2 separate regions of the Homo sapiens genome follow, and region 1 is linked to region 2. Evidence: promoter capture Hi-C in human tissues and cell types (Jung and others, 2019). All regions are on one chromosome and are shown on one strand. The core of a region is centred on a gene start or on the middle of the fragment in contact, and the rest is flanking DNA. Distances in the headings are between cores, read along the strand shown. Region 1 overlaps LOC124902480 (a long non-coding RNA gene). Region 2 holds the start of PCGF5 (polycomb group ring finger 5).

Region 1 (6,516 bases), core at 1,541-4,040, 38 kb before region 2:
TTTTTACTTTTTAATAATAGCCATTCTGACTGGTGTGAGATGGTATCTCATTGTGGTTTTGATTTACATTTCTCTAATGATCAGTGATGTTGAGCTTTTTTTCATTACATTATTGGCGGCATGTATGTCTTCTTTTGAAATTTGTCTGTTCATGTTCTTTGCCCACTTTTTAATGGAGTGGTTTGTTTCTTTTCTTGTAAATTTAAGTTCCTTATAGATGCTGGATATTAGACATTTGTCAGATGCATAGGTTGCAAAAATTTTCTCCCATTCTGTAGGTTGTCTGTTTATTCTGCTGGTAGTTTCTTTTGCTGTACAGAAGCTCTTTAGTTTAATTAGATCCCACTTGTCAACTTTTGCTTTTGTTGCAGTTATTTTGGTGTCTTCATTATGAAATCTTTGCCCATGCCTATGCCCTGAATGATAGGTTGTCTTCCAGGGTTTTTATATTTTTTTGTTTTACATTTAAGCCTTTAACCCATCTTGAGTTAATTTTTGTATATTGTGTAAGGAAGGGGTCCAGTTTCAATCTTCTGCATATGGTTAGCCAGTTATCACAGCACCATTTATTTATGCTATTTATGAATAGGGAATCCTTTCCCCATTGCTTATTTTTGTCAGATTTGTCAAAGATTGGATAGTTGTAGGTGTGTGGTCTTATTTCTGGGTTCTCTATTATGTTCCATTGGTCTATGTGTCTGTTCTTATACCAGTACCATGCTGTTTTGGTTACTGTAGCCCTGTAGTATAGTTTGAAGTTGGGTAGCATGATGCCTCCAGCTTTGTTCTTTTTGCTTAGGATTGCCTTGGCTATTCAGGCTCTTTTTTGGTTCCATGTGAATTTTAAAATAGTTTCTTCTAGTTCTGTGAAGAATGTCAATGGTAGTTTAATAGAAATAGCATTGAATCTATAAATTGCTTTGGGCAGTATGGCCATTTTCACAATATTGATTCTTCCTATCTATGAGCATGGAATGTTTTTCAATTTGTGTCATCTCTGATTTTTTTAAGCAGTGGTTTGTTGTTCTCCTTGTAGAGATCTTTCACCTCCCTAGTTAGCTGTATTTTTAGCTATTTTATTATTTTTATGGCAATTGTGCATGGGAGTTCATTTGTGATTTGGCTCTTGGCCTGACCCTTGTTGGTATATAGGAATTTGATTTTAGGCTAGTGATTTTTGCATATTGATTTTGTATTCTGAGGTTTGCTGAAGTTATTTGTCAGCTTGAGAAGCTTTGGGGCTGAAACAATGGGGTTTTCTAGATATAGGATCCTGTCATCTAAAAACAGGGATAGTTTGACTTCCTCTTTTCCTATTTGAATGCACTTTATTTCTTTCGGTTGTCTAATTGCCCTGGCCGGAACTTTGAATACTATGTTGAATAGGAGTAGCCAGACAGGGCATCCTTGTCTTGTGCCAGTTTTCAAGGGGAATGCTTCCATCTTTTGCTCATTCAGTATGATGTTGGCTGTGGGTTTGTCATATATCACTTTTATTATTATTTTGAGGTATGTTCCTTCAATACCTAGTTTATGGAGAGTTTTAAACATGAATGGATGTTGAATTTTATTGAAAGCCTTTTCTGCATCTATTGAGTTAATTGTGGTTTTTGTCTTTAGTTTGTGTTTAGTTCTGTTTATGTGATAAATTACACTTACTGATTTGTGTATGTTGAACCAACCTTGCATCCCGGGGATGAAGACCACTTGATGGTGGCAGATAAGCTTTCTGATGTGCTGCTGGATTTGGTTTGCCAATATTTTGTTGAGGATTTTTGCATCAATGTTCATCAGGGATACTGGCCTGAATTCCTTTTCTGTTGTATTTCTGCTGGGTTTTGGTAGCAGAATGATGCTGGCCTCATAGAATGAATTAGGGAGGAGTCTCTCCTTTTCAGTTTTTTGGAATATTTCCAGTAGGAATGGTAGCAGCTCTTCTTTGTACAATTTCAGAACTCATTATTGGTCTGTTCAGGAATTCAGTTTCTTCCTAGTTCAGTCTTTGGAGGGTGTATGTGTCCAGAAATTTATCAATTTTTTCTAGATTTTCTAGTTTATAAGCATAAAGGTGTTTATAATATTCGCTGATGGTTGTTTGTATTTCTGTGAGGTCAGCGGTAATGTCCCCCTTATCATTTCTGATTGTGTTTGTTTGACCTTTTCAATTTTTTGGAATAGTTCCCGTAGGAATGGTCGCAGCTCTTCTTTGTACAATTTCAGAACTCGTTATTGGTTTGTTCAGGGATTCAGTTTCTTCCTGGTTCAGTCTTCGGAGGGTGTATGGGTCCAGGAATTTATCAATTTCTTCTAGATTTTTTAGTTTATAAGCATAGAGGTGTTTATAATATTCTCTGATGGTTGTTTGTATTTCTGTGAGGTCAGTGGTAGTGCCCTCCTTATCATTTCTGATTGTGTTTGTTTGAATCTTCTTTATTAGTTTAGCTAGTTGTCTATATATTTTATTATTTTTTTCAAAAGCAAGCTCCTGGATTCATTGATCTTTTCAATGGTTTTTCATGTCACGATCTCCTTTAGTTCAGCTCTGATTTTTGTTATTTCTTGTCTTCTAGCTTTGGGATTTGTTCCCTCTTGGTTCTCCAGTTCTTTTAGTTGTGATGTTAAGTTGTTAACCTGAGATCTTTCTAACTTTTTGATATGGGCATTTAGTGCTATAAATTTCCCTCTTAACACTGCCTTAGCAGTGTCCTGGAGACTCTGTTACATTGTATCTTTGCTTTCATTAGTTTCAAAGAACTTGATTTCTGCCTTAATTTCATTATTTGAGATTCTGGTACATTGTATCTTTGCTGTCATTAGTTTCAAGTAACTTCTTGATTTCTGACTTAATTTCATTATTTACTCCAAAGTAATTCAGGAGCAGGTTATTCAATTTCCATGCAATTGTATGGTTTTGAGTGAATTTCTTAGTCTTGAGTTCTAATTTGATTGTGCTGTGGTCCAAGAGACTGTTTGTTACTATTTCAGTTCTTTTGCTTTTGCTGAAGAGTGTTTTACTTCCGATTATATGATCAATTTTAAGAGTACATGTTTTGTGGCAATGAGAAGAATGTATATTCTGTGATCCAGTGTTGTGTATATATTTGATCCAGTGCTGAGTTCAGGTCCTGAGTATCTTTGTTAATTTTCTGTCTCAATGATCTAATATTGTCAGTGGGGTGTTAAAGTCTCCCACTATTATTGTGTGGGAGTCTTAAGTTTCTATTAGGGTCTCTAAGAACTTGCTTTATGAATCTGGGTGTTCCTGTGTTGGGTATATATATATTTAGAATAGTTAGATCTTGTTGAATTGAACCCTTTACCATTATGTAATGCCCTTTGTCTTTTTTAATCTTTGTTGTTTTAAAGTCTGTTTTGGCAGAAATTGAGATTGCAACCTCTGCTTTTTTTTTTTCCTCCATCCTTTTATTTTGAGTCTATGTGTGTCTCTCCATGTGAGGTAGGTCTCTTGAATATAGCACATCGATGAATTTTGACTCTTTCTCCAGCTTGCCATTCTGTGTCTTTTAATTGGGGCATTTAGCCCATTTGCATTTAAGGTTAGTATTGATATGTGAGGATCTGATCCTGTCATCATGATGTTAGCTGATTATTTTGCAGACATGTTTATGTAGTTCCCGTATAGTGTCACTGGTCTGTGTACTTCAGTGTGTTTCTGTAGTGGCTGGTAATAGTCCTTCTTTGCCATATGTAGTGTGTCCTTCAGGAGTCTTGTAAGGCAGGTCTGGTGGTAATGAATTCCCTTAGCATTTGCTTGTCTGAAAGAATCTATTTCTCCTTTGCTTGAAGCTTAGTTTGGCTGGATATGAAATTCTGGGTTGGAATTTCTTTTCTTTAAGAATGTTGAATATTGGCCCCCAATCTCTTCTGGCTTGTAGGGTTTCTGCTGAGAGGTCCATTATTAGTCTGATTGTCTTCCCTTTGAAAGTGACCTGGCCTTTCTTTCTCACTGTCTTTAATATTTTTTCTTCGTTTCGACCTTGGATAATCTGATGATTATGTGTCTTGGGGATGTTCTTCTCATGGAGTATCTTACTGGGGTTCTCTGCATTTCCTGAATTTGAAGGTTGGCCTGTCTAGCTAGGTTGGGTACATTCTCATGGATGATATCCTAAAATATGTTTTCCAAATTGGTTCCATTCTCCTCATCTCTTTCAGGTATACCAGTCAGTGGTAGATTCAGTCTCTACATAATCCCATATTTCTTGGAGGTTTTGTTCATTTCTTTTCATTCTTTTTTTCTCTATTCTTCTCTGCCTGTCTTATTTCAGAAACACAGTCTTTAAGCTCTGAGATTCCTCTACGTGGTCTATTCTGATATTAATACTTTTTATTCCGTTATGAAATCCTTGTAGTGTGTTTTTTGTCTCTGTCAGGTTGGTTACAGTACTCTCTACTGGCTGTTTTGTCTGTCAGCTCCTGCAATGTTTTAGCGTGATTTTTAGCTTCCTTGCTTGGGTTATAATGTACTCCTTTAGCTCAGAAAGTTTGGTTTTATCCATATTCTGAATTCTACTTCTGTCATTTCAGCCATGTTGTCCTCAGCCCAGTTCTGAACACTTGCTGGAGAGGTGATACAGTCATTTGGAGGAAAGAGGGCACTCTGGCTTTTTGAGTTTTCAGTGTTCTTGTGTTGATTCTTTCTCATCTTTGTGGGCTTATCTACCTTCAGTATTTGAGGTTGCTGTTTTGTTTTTTTTTTCCTATTTTTAAAATCTGGCTACTTTTCTGTAGTGCTGCTATGGTTTGCTAGGGGTCTGCTCCAGTCCCTAGTGGCCTTGGATTTTTCAGTATCTGGAGGTATCACCAGTGAAGGCTACAAAGCAACAAAGATGGCAGTGTACCCCTTCCTGTGGGAGTCCCATCCCAGGGAGTTATGGACCTGTTGCCAGCCTGAATGCAGCGGTAGGAGGTAGCTGGAGACCCCAGTTGTGAGGTCTCACCCAGTCAGGAGGAACAACACAGGGGACCTGCTTACAGAAGCAGTTTGGCCACATTTTTTAGAACAGCTGTACTGTGCTAGGGGTACCCCCTCTGCCCCCAGTTGGCTTGGGCTCTCCAAGCATGAAGCTGGAACAGCTAAGTCACCCAGACAGCAAAGATGGTGGCCCACCCCTCCTTCTGGGAACTCTCTCCCAGGAGGTTCTTAAATCTCTGTCAGCCAGAAAACACCAGTGGGGTGGCTGGAGGCCTGGGTTGGGAGGTCCCACCCAGTGAGGAGGAATGGATCCGGGATTCACTTAAAGAAGCAGTCTGGCCATGTTTTGGTAGAGCAGCTGTGCTGTGCTGGGGGATCCCTTCTGCCCCCGTGGGTTTGGACTCTCCAAAGCCCACAGGCTGGAACAGGAAAGATGGCAGCCACCCCTTCCCCCAGGAACTGTGTCACAGCTCCATGCAACACTGTTGTCCGTGCCTGGCTGGAATTCCAAGCCAGTGTGTCATCCTGTGAGGTGCCGTGGAAGTGAGGCCCGCTGACCATCACTGCTGAGCCCCATGGATTCAACCTCTTTCCTAGGGGTATGTATGGAGGTCTAACCTCCCTCTTTGCCTGAGTTGTAGTTACTTTTGCCAGGAAGCCCAGAGCTGGATTATGTAAAGCTCCTGGGTTTCTGTGTATGCCTGAGTGGCTGCTCTGCCAAGACTCCACATAGTTCTGTGTGTCGGACTGAAGGCCCTAGTGGAGTGGTTTCATGAAGGGTTCTCCTGACCCGGGAGTTGCAAAGATTGGTGGGGCAAGTGTGGTTTCCTTGGGTCACACATTCACTCCCTGCTTCCCTGGGCAGGGGAGATTCCCTTGACTCCGTGTGGCTCCCTGGTGGGCCATCATTTTGCCTTGCTTTTCTCTGTTCTCTGTGGGTCAGGTTGTTTCCTTGATTAGTCCCAATGCAGGTACCTGGATGTTTCAATTGAAAGTGCTGTATTTACTCGCCCCTTTCATTCCTGTCTTTGAGAGCCACGCACCCTAGCTGCTTCTAGTCAGCCATCTTGGTCGCTCCCTGCTTCAATATTTATTTCTTTATGTTTTGCAGACAGTAGTTAAATTGATGACATCTTGAATTTCCTGTGCAGTAATTTTAGAGCTCAAGTTCAAGTAAATTTTAACTTAAAATCATTTTGGTATTTCTTTACTTTTAACATTACCTCTTGGGCTAAATCAGCTGTACCCTCAGGTTGCCCTCAAGTTATTTGATCTCACCTGGATTTTGCCCCGACTCTCACAGCTGTGGTGTACCAGGCGTTCATTCACCAGTAGCAGTATTGCCAGGTTGCAACTGGGATCACCAGCAGTTTTCATAGCTCACTAGTTGTCTATGGCGAGAATTCTTAGGTGATTAGCAAGCAAGAGATGAAGGAATATAAAAGCTGCATGATTTCACAAGGTTGGAAGTCTTGTTGCATTGAACTTTCAATGAAAGAAATTTTGTATACTTGAAAGAAATGTTTATTGTGTAGATGAAATAAATATTTTAGACCTCAGGGAAAAACTTCATATATATA
Region 2 (6,683 bases), core at 1,417-3,916:
GGCTGGTCTTGAACTCCTGACCTCAGTTGATCTGCCCGCCTTGGCCTCCCAAAGTGCTGGGATTACAGGCGTGAGCCACCGTGCGCAGCCCTAATCTGTTTCTTACCAGACCTCCCTTAAGTTCTGGGACTTGAGAAGTACTCTCAAGAGGTATTAAAGAAAACTGAAGCTGACACCTTTGTTTTTGTCTTGGCTCTACCAGAATCAGCTCTGTAATTATGAATTCACCACGTCTCAGGATCTTAGTTTCTACATCTATAAAATGAGAAAGCTGAAGTACATTATTGATAAGGGGACTCCCAGCTATGATTCCTTTATCCTGCCTTTTTTTTTCCCCTGGTCCTATATCCAGTTGCTTCCAGGCCTTTGTTTACTTGAGGGTCCCACTGGTACTTGAGATTTGTTATCAGAGCTACCCCCTCATGTTGTAGCTTCCGTCATTTGTCCTCTGCCCCCACTGGCAGTACCAAGGGACTAGACTAGGATAAGTAACTGGTAAGGAGCCCCAGGGGAGAAGGAGAGGCAGCACAGCAGCTGAAAGTCCCATGTTTTAATACTTACAATCTGCATACACATCACACAGGAAAGTTGCCATTTCACAACACTCCCTCTTACCATTACTTTTGTTATTATTCTTATTTTATTATTATTATTGAGACAGAGCCTTGCTCTGTCTCCCAGGCTAGAATGCAGTGGTGCGATCTCGGCTCACTGCAACTTCCACCTCCTAGGTTCAAGCGATTCTCCTGCCTCTGCCTCCTGAGTAGCTGGGACTACAGGCGCATGTCACCATGCCCGGCTGATTTTTGTTTTAGTAGAGATGGGGTTTCGCCATATTGGCCAGGCTGGTCTCAAACTCCTGACCTCATGATCCGCCCACCTCGGCCTCCAGAAGTGCTAGGATTACAGGCATGAGCCACCGTGCCAGGCCTATTATTATTTTTTTAACCAGACAAATGTTTGAGTTTTTAAACTTGTTTTTATTTTGTGTATGTGTGCATTTTTTTAAATTGGGGTGGGAGAGATGGAATGGTTGCTGAAGAAGGCAGAGGCGAAACCACAGAACACTTAACTGCAAACTATTGCTGCCTCTCCAGACACAAAGCACAGATTGCCTTATAAAAGTTGTAGTTCTCCCTCATCCCAAGTCCATTCTGGCAACCCCACCTCCACATTCATCCTCAGGTACTGCTGTATCACATGTTTGTGACCCCTTCCTTCATTGCTAACATATGTCATCCTAAAACCCGCCTTCAAGCTCGTTTCCTTCAGGAATACTGATTAACCGCACTTGTGATAGGTCACCAATCACATTTAAGCCCCCTGGACTCCACTGTTATTCTTTTAAAACATATTTAAAATAGTTTCAGACACAAAATAGGAACATACCAAGTCTTTTTTATATATTGTGGTATATATACAGTAATATCCTCCAATGCATATTTTAAACACACTAGAAGTAGTGTGATTTTTCACATACTGTTCTGTTTAGTCTCTGAAATGAAAGATATGAAGCATAAAGAGTAATCCTACTGCCATGAAGTCATTTGACCTCACTTGTTTTCTCTTACTCATTGTGATTGCTGCGACTTATGAAGTTGATCCCAGCTTGGACATTGGCATGTATGATTTTGGAAAATGGTTCTTTAAAGGACTATACGAATGTGGTCATTTAAAGCTGTTTCAGAAAATGTATTGCTCCTGCTGTGATATTAGAAATGGCAATTTTTAAACATGTCAAAGTTTGATTATAAAATGGATAGTTTAAAAAGCTGCCTTGGTCTACTGCTTGATGCATTTTAAATTTGAAATGGATCTTTGAACACTTGTATGGCTGCTGGACTAGCGGTTGTTAAGTTTGTTGGTTTGCCACTTAGAGTCATCTATCACTTTAGTAAGAAGTTAACGCCTATCAGTTGGAGAAAAAGCAAATATTTTGCATTGACAGTCTCCCCTACCCTCTATTATTGTCATTTTCTTAAGCCATCACTGCTCTGGCTTCTAGAATACACATTTTTGAATGAAGGTTTTTGCAGTGAATGGTCTCTTGTAGATCTCAAAGTCCACTAGAAAGAGTACTGGGTTTTTGTTTGTTTTGAACGTTGCAAACAGTAATGCTTCTTTACCACTCACCCTCCCCCCACCCTCAACCTCCACAACGTTCCCGTTTGCTTATAGTTGTCAACGACCATGATCTCTGGACCCACACTACAGTAACAAGTTTGTCAGTCATTTTCAGATAAGGTGCAAATCAAGGGATGGCTTTGTCCCCACTTCGGCGCAGGTGGGACAGACTTGGGGAAGACGCAGCTGAAGAGACAAATTCTCAGGGTGCGTCAGTCTCATCACTGACCGTTGCTTTTAAACCCTCCAGGGAAAATATGCCAGTCATTGTTATGATGTAAACAACCGAAGGGGTGGACGGTGAGGATAAGAAGAACCGAGATAATATTTGGCCAGAGCTACGTGTAGCACAGGGAGCCAGGGCGGCAGCTGCACCTGCGAGCAGCGCAGGCGGCAGGCGCGGCCTCCGGGCGTGGTGGTGGGCGTGGCCGGGCGGCGGGGGCGTGGCCGGGCGGCGGGGCGGGCGGTGCCGCCGGTTGGAAGTGGGTGGAGTTGCCCTTGGAGGCGGCACCGGACCTGGGCCCCGAGGCCCGCCGCGCCCTGTCGGGCCTGAGCCGAGTGGCCCCACAGAGCCGGCGCGCTCCCGCCTGCAGGGGGAGAGCAGACGGGGCGCGGGGACCGGCCAGGCCGCGGCGGGTGCTGTTTCTGTTTCACTTTCCTTCACTCTGAGGCCGGCGCGCTGGCGGGCGAGGAGCGGCGGCGGTGGCGGCCGCTGGGTAGGTACCGGGCGGGCTGGGGAGCTGCAGGGACGCCAGACTCCTCACCCAAGTTTGCGCCTCAGGCGAGAGCGACACCTCCAGACACCTGCCCTGGCCGGCCCAGCCTGGAGCCGGGAGGGCCCTTCGGGTGCAGGGGGCTACCGACCCGGGCGGGGGCTTCGGAGCTGTGCCTACCTCGGCGGGGAGAGCGGCCGGCTGCGGACGCCGGCCCCGGGAAAGGCTGCTCGCTCTCCCCGGCCTGAGCAGCGCGCCCGCGGGGCCTGGGCCCGCGCACCTGCCGGGCGGGCGCGGCTGTGCTGGGACCCCACAGGGCTGTACCGCTGGGTCCTGCCGGAGAACGCAGAAAAGTTCCCCCTTGCCCCCGCCCCGTCATTGCAAGTTCTTGCTTCCCTTAACTGTCTTGGTCACAGGGCTCTGTGCCTTAGGATCTTAGTACCACCCCAGGTCGGGACCGTGCATTTCCTCTTCCAGAGGACTTTCTCTTACTTTGGAGTTTCATGGCAAACCTGTGGGAAAGGCAAGGCAGTTAATCCCAACTTATAGAGGAGGAAGCCGAGACCCAGGCTCAGATATGAAACGGTTTGCTGAAGGTCATACAGGGGTAAGGGCCAGAACCCTGATTCCCTGTCTTTTAATTATGCTTGCTTTCTGTTACACGCACGAATACGGTTTCCCAAGAGGATAGGATGATTACACGTAGAGCCTATTCCCTGCACATTCGCAGTGGGTATGTGTTGATGGAATGCCTTTTACCTTTCCGGTTGCTTTATATTTACCAATGAGTTAACAGCTAAGATGGGGGAAAGTTCCTGTTTATAGAATGCACTTAGGAAAATCAACACCTTTCATGTTGTGTTTTCTGAGAGGATACATATTTTACAGTTAAAAAAAAAAAAAAACCTGAGACAGGAAAGTAGCATTATCCAGGTTATATATCTACTAAATATGACCAGTTTCTATTGAAGAGTTTTTGGTCTAACAAAGAAGGTAAAGAATGAACGTAACTATAAATCAAAATAAAAGGCAAATGTAATAGGAAAGAAGTAAGCATTAAAAACTAGGGAAAGATTGCACTGAGAATAGCATTGGAGAAGGGCTTGAAGGATAGGTGGCATGCAGACAGAGGAGAGAAAGGGCGTGTTGGATAGAGTGCTTAGAACCTGCAGAGGAGACGGTGGGAGAGGAGTGATCCCTTCAGGTTGAAGAAAGTTGTTGAAGGGTATATTAAGGTTAACCTGTAGAAGGTCTTATGTGACAGAATGGGAAACATTTTTCTGTTTGTAAAGAGAAGACACTGACATTCGTTGATAAGAAGACCCAACCAAGTGTCACAAAATAAAATGTGCCTCGTAGCAGAATATAAGATGGACTGCAGGTGGAGAGGTGATATACAAGTAGAGCAGCCGGGCATGGAATAGCAGAGGATATCAACTTGGTTTGACTCGTAACTGGATGAAGGGTTAAAAATGGAAATGGGGAACATTTTGATAGGGAGGATAATTACTTAAGTTTTTAATCTTTTAACTTGTATTGGCAGGGACTCCTAATAGAGCAGTCAAGCAGATAGTTAAAATGCATTAGTGAAGAGGTAAAGATATCAAACTGTAGTTAATAGCTTTGGGTGTCATTAGTATAGAGGTGGTAGTTGAGGTTCCAGGACTGGATGAATTTGTCATTATTCTGAATTATAGCAGATTTGCAAGTTAATGATACAATGAAGGATATGTTCTATTCACCTATTCACCCAATTGGGAACATGTAACACTTGCTGTTAATAGAATGACATTAATACATTATGAGGAATTTGACGCTTTTTTCTCTCATCTTTTTGAAATGATTTTGGAAACAGACATGGGAAAGCGGAACCACCAAAAGGAGTGATGATCAACGATCTCATGATAAATCTGGATGCTAGTTCTCATGCCTCAGGACATCCTACTGGGAACGACACACCAGCTCCTGGGATCAGACTTTCATCTACTTAGGACCCCTCTTTGCCCAGACTACTAAAGCCAGTCTTCACTAGCCACGAATGGCTACCCAAAGGAAACACTTGGTGAAAGATTTTAATCCTTACATTACCTGCTATATCTGTAAAGGGTATCTGATCAAGCCAACAACAGTGACGGAATGCCTCCATACATGTAAGTATTCTTTTAGGTTATTATACCTATCAAAGTTTATATGTACATTTTGTTCTTTTAAAATTGCCATGTTTTGTTTTTATCTATGTTGTAACTTTTAAGAAATGAGTATTCTAATAATTATTTTAACTTTGAATTTTCAGAATATTTGTCATTGGGTTGCCAGTGGCATGAAATTTTGCTTTTATTTGAATCTCAGTAGTTGACTCTTATCACATTGTAAAATATTCTAAAAATCATAAGCATATTATCAGTTATGGTTTTTTTAAGTGAACTATTTCAGGTTTTTTTATTTTAAAAATTTATACTCAAGGAATTAATCTCAGAGATTCTTTTAGGATATGCAGACTCTTAATTCGCTGGTTCTCAAAGTGTGATTCCTAGACTAGCAGCACCAGTGTCATTGCAAGTTCTAGGAACTTGTTAGAAATGCAGATTATCAGGCCCTACCCTAGATTTAATGAGCCGGAGACTCTGAGAGTGGGCCCAGCAATCTGTTTTAACAAGCCCTCCAGGTGATTCTGAAGCATGCTTAAGTTTGAGAATCACTGTTCTAGTAGTAGTATACCTGTGGAGCTCCTAGCAGATTTCATTCTCAACTGTCCCATTGGAAGAGGAAGAGGCATTTTTTACTGCCACTTATGCCAAGATTACACATACTCTTTGTGTTTCTGCCAGCATGATTTCATTTTTTATTTCAGTGAAAGTAATTCCAGTAAGTTATAGTTTAATGCCTAGTATGTGCACCAAAATGAGATATATGTGATTTCATCTTAGCTTTACAATGACCTGGGAGCATTTTGGAGTAGATGTAGGGGGAGAGAGAAGGTATAGAGATTTATCTTCATTTTATGGATGTGGAAACTAATGGATAAGTAACTTGTCTAGTCTCATAGCTAATGAGTGGTGGACCTATATTCAACTCCAAAACCCATGCTCTTTAATATACCATGGTACTTTTTTTTTAATTTTTATTTTTGTTAGTAAGCCTCGTTTTTCAGCTATTCTTGCTCTGCTGAACTGACTTAATGTTATACCAGTAGTTTTAAATGAATGCTAGATGGAATAATCTGGAAATGGTTGAAATGGCAAATTTTATGTTACATTTATGTTACATTTATTTTACCACAATAAAAAATAGAATCATCTGGGAAGCTATTTAAGCATACGCATGCTCAGGACCCTGCCTGGGGAGATAAAGTGGGTCTTGTGGTAAGGCCTGGGCATGCATATTTTGGAAGAGCTCCCCAAGTGATGCTGATGTATACTCCTTTGGGGTATTACTGGCACATCTTATTCAATTAGCAATTAACTATGTACTATCTTGTATTACTAGTTTGCTGTTGCCCTGTATTGTTATTTAACTTGAACAGTTAATTAACTATCATCGAACAGACATTTATTGAGTACTTTGTGTGTCAGGCACTGTGCTGGGGCATGAGATAATAAAGAAGGGCACAAGATAATAAAGAAGTCTCTGCTCAAGAAGTATAATTCTAGTAGGAAAACTAATTTTAAAAATGCCATATTAGTGATAAGTAGTATGAAAAAGAACAAAGCACAATTGTAGATAGGAGACATGGAGGTAATTTATAGTGGGTCAGCCTCTTTGATATGATGACATTTGAACAGAAACCTGAAGGGACTGAAGGACTCTGTGGATATATGGGAAAGCAGTCTGTATAAAGGGAAAATT

The links. The method cuts DNA at HindIII sites, captures the fragments that hold promoters and counts their contacts. A contact is called where the count stands out against the background at its distance.
Region 1: a fragment that was not itself captured here is called in contact with the fragment with the promoter of PCGF5 in region 2 in 1 of the 25 tissues and cell types used here (hippocampus).

The regions. Positions count from the first base shown.
Region 1 is chr10:91,180,015-91,186,530 of GRCh38, forward strand. It overlaps LOC124902480 (a long non-coding RNA gene), which reads right to left. Exons shown (of 3, transcript XR_007062240.1): 3 at 1-6,516. It also overlaps a transcript of PCGF5 not described here. Among named protein-coding and RNA genes, the nearest start is that of PCGF5, 37 kb to the right of the region's middle. The HindIII fragment of the contact is 5,314 bases long and covers 134-5,447 here.
Region 2 is chr10:91,217,997-91,224,679 of GRCh38, forward strand. It overlaps PCGF5 (polycomb group ring finger 5), which reads left to right and starts at 2,667. Exons shown (of 10, transcript NM_032373.5): 1 at 2,667-2,840; 2 at 4,693-4,987. The coding sequence starts at 4,876. RefSeq lists an enhancer at 2,207-2,276 and silencers at 2,467-2,776, 2,847-3,306, 2,996-3,290. The HindIII fragment of the contact is 13,387 bases long and covers 1-6,683 here.